Regions from separate parts of the Homo sapiens genome. Here all the other regions are linked to region 2. Evidence: promoter capture Hi-C in human tissues and cell types (Jung and others, 2019). All regions are on one chromosome and are shown on one strand. The core of a region is centred on a gene start or on the middle of the fragment in contact, and the rest is flanking DNA. Distances in the headings are between cores, read along the strand shown. Region 1 has its middle 21 kb from the start of MUSK. Region 2 holds the start of PTGR1 (prostaglandin reductase 1). Region 3 overlaps HSDL2 (hydroxysteroid dehydrogenase like 2).

Region 1 (2,700 bases), core at 50-2,549, 950 kb before region 2:
GAGAAAATTTTTGCAATCTTCTCATCTGACAAAGGGCTAATATCCAGAATCTACAAAGAACTCAAACAAATTTACAAGAAAAAAACAACACCATCACAAAGTGGGCAAAGGATATGAACAGACACTTCTCAAAATAAGACATTTATGCAGCCAACAGACACATGAAAAAATGCTCATCATCACTGGCCATCAGAGAATGCAAATCAAAACCACAATGAGATACCATCTCACACCAGTTAGAATGGCGATCATTAAAAAGTCAGGAAACAACAGATGCTGGAGAGAATGTGGAGAAATAGGAACACTTTTACACTGTTGGTGGGACTGTAAACTAGTTCAACCATTGTGGAAGACAGGATCTAGAACTAGAAATACCATTTGACCCAGCCATCCCATTACTGGGTATATACCCAAAGGATTATAAATCATGCTGCTATAAAGACACATGTACACATATGTTTATTATGGCACTTTTCCCAATAGCAAAGACTTGGAACCAACCCAAATGTCCATCAATGATAGACTGGATTAAGAAAATGTGGCACATATACACCATGGAATACTATGCAGCCATAAAAAAGGATGAGCTCATGCCCTTGGTAGGGACATAGATGAAGCTGGAAACCATCATTCTCAGCAAACTATCGCAAGGACAAAAAACCAAACACCACATGTTCTCGCTCATAGGTGGGAACTGAACAATGAGAACACTTGGACACAGGAAGGGGAACATCACACACCAGGGCCTGTCATGGGGTGAGGGGAGGGTGGAGGGGGGAGGGAAAGCATTAGGAGATATACCTAATGTAAATGATGAGTTAATGGGTGTAGCACACCAACATGGTGTATGTATACATATGTAACAAACCTGCACGTTGTGCGCATGTACCCTAAAACTTAAAGTATAATAATAAAGATTTTTAATAGCCATTATATAGAAATTAAATCACTTGATTTTTGTATATAGATCTTGTATCCTGTTTTGAAAAAAAAAAAAAGAAAAGATCCTGGTGCAACTTTTCCAAATAATCCTTTCTATTCACAAAATTGTGATAACTTTATCATATACCAAATATGTATGTATATGTTGTATATACACGCACACACAACACATACATAATGGTACATGACATATATAGACATATATATATATACATACATGTACACACAGATATATGTGTATATATGCATGTAAGTGTGTGCATACATATTAGTATATGTCATTTTTCTGGGCTATCAATCATACATGCTGTTGGTTCTTTTGCCAAAGTTTTATTTTACAAATTACCATAGCTACATTTTTTTAAATCAGGTAACAAAAGTTCTACTTTGCAAGGTCTGATTATGAGGATACATGTTATGATAAAATACCATCTTTCAACAATCAAGTTTGTAAGCAAATATTTAAATGAATTTTCCAGAATAAACTTTTATGTAACTGTGATCTTTAAACATTGCTCACGTGTATGAGGAGTGAGAAGCCTGATGCCTGTGAGTCAGGCTGTGGACTGTACTATGGCTCGTGCCACCAGCTGGCCTATTGCATGACAGAGAATGGTCTCCACAAGTCACAAATTACATCTGTTTATGCTTCTATTTGTTAGACAATCTGGCACCGGGAACAGCTGAGCAGAAGGATTTGAAAACAGCTTGTTTGATTGATGTATCTAGAGTTATCTCTAAATCCAAATAAAATGTTAAGTGCTATCAAGAAATCATAAATCAGGCATGTCTCTCTTTGAGCTATGAGAAGTTCTTGCTAAAGCTTTTATGACACCCATTTGAAAGAAATACAATTGGCTTGTATTCAAAATAGGATTTAGGCCTGTGTGTACCACACGATTAATTAGGTCACATTTTTAACCCGATTCAGCTGTGAGATAGCACAGGGCCTAGCATGTAAGTCATGGTGATGGAAAAGGTTGGAACTAGGGTTTTCAACCAGGTAAGAGAAATGTAGAGAGCATCAGGTACAAATGCAGAAGGTGGTTGATACTAATGAGTATGTTCGAAGAGTAGTTGTGATCAATGACCTCTGTTTACGGGGAGCAAGACGCCAATCAGAACAGGCAACAACACAGGGAAGCTGAGTGCCAACTACTAGGACATCACTTTGGCGGGATCCCAGCACTGAATCTTCATCAGTTATGACAAGAAAATTTTACATGCTTATGTCTGTGAAAACTCTAAATGCCCAGGAGACAGTAGAAATGCACTTTTTCATTAAGCAAAACTTTTGGGGAAAAAAAAAAATTCCAGGCCAGGCACTGTGGCTCATGCCTGTAATCCCAGCACTTTGGGAGGCCAAGGTGGGAGGATCACTAGAGCCCAGGAGTTCAAGACCAGCCTGGACAACACAGCAAAACCCACATCTATACATTTAAAAAAAAAATTAGCTGGGCATAGTGGTGTGCTCCTGTAGTCCCAGCTACTCTGGAGGCTGAGGCAGAAGGATCACTTGAGCCCAGGAGTTCGAGGCTAGAGTGAGCTATGATTGTGCCACTGCACCAGCCTGGGCAAGAGAGGGAGGCACTGACTCAAAAAACAAAAACAAAACATTTCTGTATGTGTTGTATTAGGTGTTGCCAATTAATATCAGCTCTGCCTAACTTAGGCTGAAAAGGAATTACTAGAAGACTGTTGTGAAGTTTATAGTATCAACAGGAAGGCTAGAGAATAAAACTTGAAAAAATGGGTAAA
Region 2 (2,904 bases), core at 322-2,821:
CCTCGGTCTCCCAAAGTGCTGGGATTACAGGTGTGAACCACTTGCACTCAGCCATCGGGTGCGAATTTTCTTTGGCCCAGTAGGGATTTGAGTTTAAACTCCACACCAAACCGATTTTGAGCTGAAACGCTGCACCAAAGCAAGGGAAGATGATGAAGGCTGCCCCGAGCTGGGGGTTCAGGATGTTCTGCTTGGACTGAACTCTGCCGAATCACTTGGGACCTGCGCCTTCCCGCGGGTGCATCCGCTACAAACAATCCAGTTACGAAACCATTTGGAGCTGCCAGTGATCTCCCCAGCTCCCCTACCGGTGCCGCGGGAGGGGACACGGTGACCTGGAGGGAGCACTCCCGCATTGCGAGGGAGCCAGGGGGGCGGTCTGATCTGCAGCCCGGGGTTGTTCCTTCTTTTCTTTTTTTAAAATTAAGACTTTTTTTGTGACGGAGTCTCGCTCTGTCGCCCAGGCTGAAGTGCAATGGCGCGATCTCAGCTCACTGCAACCTCCGTCTCCCGGGTTCAAGCGGTTCTCCTGTCTCAGCCTCCTGAGTAGCTGGGATTACAGGCGCCCGCCACCACGCCCAGCTAATTTTTGTACTTTTAGTAGAGACGGGGTTTCCCCATGTTGGCCAGACTGGTCTAGAACTCCTGAGCTCAAATGATTCGCCCGCCTCGACCTTCCATAGTGCTGGGATTACAGGCGTGAGCCACCGCGCCAGGCCCTACGTATCATTTTTACGGTGAGACATTTGCAGTTTACTCTGTTATTTCGAAATACACATTATTGGCTCTAGTCACTCTGCTGTGCAACAGATCTCAGAACCTACTCCTCTCGTCTCTGAACTTCGTACCCTTTGGCCAACAAGCCCCCATTCCCCCCCGAACCCGCTCCCAGCCTCTGGCAACCATCATTCTAGTCGTTATTTCTATGAGTTCAACTTCTTTAGAGTTCACACATCTTTGTCCCTTTCCCCAAAAAAGCAACCGCTGGGCTTCCAAACTCGCTACAAGTCCAGAAGCCCTCCTGGAAAGGGTCTGGCCGCAGAGGGGCCAGGTCCCGGGAAAGTCTCGCCCGCCCGAGGAGGGGGCCTGGCGCGGCGCCCGGCCTTTGCCCGCTCGCCCTTTGCTCCCACCCTCGCCTCCCGCCGCCCGCCGCCCGCTTGCCCATTCCCGAATCCCCACCCCGATCTTTCTTCTTCTACCCTCCCCCAGTTGTGCAGTCCAGCAAGTTCCCTGGCCAGCCCCCTCCCGGGTGCAGGAAGCTACCGGGTGTCCCGGGTTGTAACCAAGCTTTCCTATTCCCTCCGGCGCGCGGCTCCAAGCTCTCCAAGGAACTGCGGGGGCGGGAGGCGTCGGGACGTCGGCTCCCAAGATCCTCCGAGTGCAAGACCCAGCGGTCATTTCGACGTAAGGGGAGGAGGTCTAAGAGCAAACCTCCTCCACTGGGGCGTCTAGAAACTTGGCAGGAAGAAAGCAAGGGGGTTAGAGGAGGGAGAAAAGGGAAGGAAAGAAAGCAGGAGGTCTACTTACAGGAGCCCGAAGGTTCCACTGCCTGGGGAAGGCGGCTGGGACTGCGCAGCCGGGCGCCCGGGGTCCGACTTATGACAGGTCCCAAGAGAGGGTGGGGCCACCCCAGGGCGGGGCTGCTTCTTTAGGGTGAGAGCCCGGCCCCGAAAGGGTCACAGGAGGAAAACCAGGGTCCGGGAAATCTGAGTGCGTTTGTGTGTGTGTGTGCGCGTATCTCTGTGTGCCTATGTGCATGTGCGCGCGCGTATGTGTGCATGTGTGCGTGTGTGTGCGTGCGCGCCCGCGCGCCCGTGTGTGTGCGTGTAGGGGGTTAGGGACTCCTGATAGGAAAATTCCTAACAGAGCTTTGTCCAGCTGACACTGGACCTCCGCCTGGGGTCCTAAGTTGGAGCCCGGCGGAAATATGCCCCGTGGGGGAACCAACCGTGGCATCTGCCAAGCAGGCCGGAAGGGTCCAAAGGCAGGGCCTGGGGCGGCCGCAGCCCTAATAAGCCCCCGGTGCTGGCTCCGATCCCTGGGCTCCCCGTCAGCCCTGCCGCTTGCCCGCAGTGCAAGCTTTCGCCCAGGGCTGCGGTGCAGACACCCTGCCTGTCTGTCCCCAGTCCGCCTGCTGAACACCTACTCGCCTTCCACCAGCCAATTCAAGGTCACCTCTGTGAACCCTTGCCAGACTCCCCCAGGCAGGAGTGAGCACTCTTGCCACTGAGGCACCCCACCCATCACACCCTAGCAAACATCAGGCCTTGACCTGGCTTCTGCAAGGAGAGGTGGTCTCAGGCAGGGGTTGAACGTGAAGCTAAGTCGTTGGTATTAGACGACTGCAGGTTCGAAGCCTGCACCTGCCACTTACTAGTGGTGTAGCTTTCAAAGACTTACTTACCTTCTCCTTGCCTCACTCAGTTCAGCCATCTGCAAGATGGGGATAAGAAGAATGCCTAACTTCCAGTCATTGTGAAGATTCAATGTCTTTAATTTATTTATTTAATTTTAATTATTTTGAGGTCTTGCTCTGTCACCCAGGCTGGAGTGCAATGGTGGGCATCATAGCTCATTGCAGCCTTGAACTCCTGGACTCAGGTGATCCTCCTTCAGCCTCCCTAGAAGCTGGGATTACAGGCCCACCACCACACCTGGCTCAATGTCTCTCCTTGTAAGGATACCCGCCATATTGGATTAGAGCCCCACTTGTCAGCCTCCGTTTAACTTAAACACGTCTTTGAAGGCCTTGTCTTCAAATACTGTCAAATGGATTAGGGCTCACTAATATGGCCTCATGTAACCTTAATTACCTCTTTAAAGGCCCTATCTACAAATACAGTTACATTCTGAGTACTGGGACTTGGGGATTTTAACACATGAAATTGGGGAAGACACAGTTCA
Region 3 (2,981 bases), core at 456-2,955, 810 kb after region 2:
TTTATTTTTTTGAGATGGAGTTTCATTCTTGTTGCCCAGGCTGGAGTGCAGTGGCACGATCTCAGCTCACTGCAACCTTTGCCTCCTAGGTTCAAGCGATTCTCCTGCCTCAGCCTCCTGAGTAGCTGGGATTACAGGCGCCCACCACCATGCCCAGTTGATTTTTTGTATTTTTAGTAGAGACAGGGTTTTACCATGTTGGCCAGGCTGGTCTCAAACTCCTTACCTCAGGTGATCCACCCACCTTGGCCTCCCAAAGTGCTGGGATTACAGGCATGAGCCACCATGCCCAGCCCGATAGTATTTTAAATAGCTTTATTTGGAGCTCCTTTTCTCTATGAATTTAGGAAAGACTAAAGTAGGCTGAGTGCAGTGGCTCACACCTGTAATTTCAGCACTTTGGGTGAGGGGAGTATTATTGGAGGCCAGGAGATTGAGACTGAGATGCACAAGATGGCAAGACGCTGTCTCTACAAAAAAAAGTTTTTAAAATCAGGCAGGCATAGTGGTTTGTGTGCTACTGAGACTGTGGTGGTGGTCTCATCTACTCAGGAGACTGAGGCAAGAGGATCCCTTGAGCCCAGGAGTTTGAGGCTACAATGAGCTGTGATCATGCCACTGCACTCCAGCCTGGGTAACAGAGAAAGACTGTCTCCAAAGAAAAAAAAAAAAGACTAAAGTGTAGCTCAAGCATTTTCTCAAATATTTGCATGTGTAAATACTTACATGTATACTCTGTCTTTCATAGGACACAGTCCTTTCATAGGACTATTTAGGATTACTGAAGCCAGCAATAGTCTCCTTCCTCTGAAAAAGACCTGGCGTTAAAAAAAAAAAAAGACGTAGGTTTTAGTTATTTAAATAACAGTAAGGTCATTCTCATTATGAATCACACTTTATTGTAACCAATAAAAACACTAATACTTTCTTGGGCTTTGCCGGGGAAATGTAGACTATCGAATGAAAGAACATAGTCTTGATCTGTTCTGGATTCATCAGACAACCTGTCTTATTGTCCATTTATTTATCTGTTTATTTACCCTCTGGTTCTATATTTTCCATGTGGATATCAGGATACATCAGGTTAGAACTTGCTTCTGTACCTTACATGTATCTTGTTAACACACAGAATAGGTGGTTAGGAGCTTAGGCTCTGGAGTAAGACTGCTTGGATTCAAATCTTAACACTCACCCCTCATGACTTTCTATTTTGTGACCTTGGACAAGTAACTTAACTTCTTGCAGATTCAGTTTCTTTACTTTTAAAATGGCAATAATACAGTAATATGTTATAGGGTTGGTCACGAGGGTTAAATGTCTAAGTTATTAAGTTAGAGTCCTGAATTTTTCCCTCAGGTATGTTTTGTTGGGTCTGCAAAACTTGGCCCAGACAGTGTTAAAACAAAATTGTTTTCATTAGTTACCTACATTCAAAGTTTTATTAGTTAGGGCCAGGCATGGCGGCTCATGCTTGTAATCCCAGCACTTTGGGAGGCTGAGCCAGGCGGGTCACTTGAGCCCAGGAGTTCGAAACCAGCCTAGACAACATGGCAAAACCCTGTCTCTACAAAAAATAGAAAAATTAGCTGGGGATGGTGGCACACGTGCCTGTAGTCCCAGCTACTTAGGAAGCTGAAGTGGGGGGATTGTCTGAATCTGGGAGGTGGACGTTGCTGTGAGCTGAGATCACCCTACTGCACTCCAGCCTGGGTGACAGAGCGAGACCCTGTCTCAAAAACTTTATTGGTTGCTTATGTTGAAAAAATTAGAAGATTTATACAAAAGTCCAGATTTCTAGCTTTTCTTGAAATCTTAGAAGATCTGGCCAAATAGAGAAGCATTACCACATGGCAATAGTTGCTGTAGCTGAGTGGCAGGGTTATCAACTGCCTCATCAGATGGGGCCAGAGCTCTGTTGTCTTCTGGATGCTGAGGACAGACTAACAAGTTATATCATTGCATTTACACTGTTGTTTTTCTTATATGAAAGAGGAAAGTGAAATATTTCTCATAACCACATCTCTCTCTGAATTGGGAAAATGAGACTTATGCCAAGAGGGCCGTATGTTCAAGCAAAATGGGTGAAAGCTTACTTGTTTGTAGATGTAAGGCATATTTCTATAAATTCGATATGTAAGGTAGGTCTCTATTGAATGAAACCATATTGAATCCAACTGTAGTAAGAATTATGGCAAATGGCTGGGCACAGTGGCTCATGCTTGTAATCCCAGCACTTTGGGAGGCCAATGCAGGCAGATCACCTGAGGTCAGGAGTTTAAGACTAGCCAGGCCAACATGGTGAAACCCTGTCTCTACTAAAAATACAAAAAATTAGCCAGGCGTGGTGGTGTGCACCTGTTACTGGACTATTCCGGAGGCTGAGGCAGGAGAATCGCTTGAACCCAGGAGGCGGAGGCTGCAGTAAGCCAAGATCACACCACTGCACTCCAGCTTGGGCAGCAGAGTGAGACTCTGTCTCAAAAAGAAAAAAACTATTATGGCAAGCATATAGATTGTGATGAAAAACTTGAACTAGAAAGAGTTTGTGTTTATTTTCAAATAAAATAGGCAATGTTGCTATGTGATACTGTCATGGTACTAGAAAAAATTATATGGGAATAAAAATATTTTACAGCTGGCAACTTTGTGAAAGAATTTCAATTGAATGTTAAGTATTTGTTTAAACAAATGCTTAAAAATATAAACCTAGCCAGGAATATTATTGCTCAACATGTTGAACTAAGGCTTAGTTAAGGGCGTGTTGTGTGAATAAGTTTAATGATTTCTGGCAGTTTCTATTATAGATGATGAAGCCACAGATATACATATACAGGTTGAGTATCCCTGGTCTGAAAATCCCAAATCCAGAATGCTCTGAGATCTGAAACTTTTTGAGTGCTGACTCGACGCTCAAAAGAAATGCTCTTTGGAACATTAAGGATTTCAAATTTTTGGAGTAGTGATGTTGAACTGGTTAAGTA

Evidence for each region. Contacts are between HindIII fragments. The study calls those that stand out against the background at their distance.
Region 1: a contact is called between a fragment that was not itself captured here and the fragment with the promoter of PTGR1 in region 2, in 1 of the 25 tissues and cell types used here (lymphoblastoid cells).
Region 3: a contact is called between a fragment that was not itself captured here and the fragment with the promoter of PTGR1 in region 2, in 1 of the 25 tissues and cell types used here (lymphoblastoid cells).

Annotation. Positions count from the first base shown.
Region 1 is chr9:110,645,996-110,648,695 of GRCh38, forward strand. No RefSeq gene overlaps it. Among named protein-coding and RNA genes, the nearest start is that of MUSK, 21 kb to the right of the region's middle. The HindIII fragment of the contact is 4,893 bases long and covers 1-2,700 here.
Region 2 is chr9:111,598,076-111,600,979 of GRCh38, forward strand. PTGR1 (prostaglandin reductase 1) reads right to left here and starts at 1,572. Exons shown (of 10, transcript NM_001146108.2): 1 at 1,528-1,572. RefSeq lists an enhancer at 1,423-1,995. The HindIII fragment of the contact is 5,410 bases long and covers 1-2,904 here.
Region 3 is chr9:112,409,196-112,412,176 of GRCh38, forward strand. The region is part of intron 4 of HSDL2 (hydroxysteroid dehydrogenase like 2); the gene reads left to right. Among named protein-coding and RNA genes, the nearest start is that of HSDL2, 31 kb to the left of the region's middle. The HindIII fragment of the contact is 3,136 bases long and covers 138-2,981 here.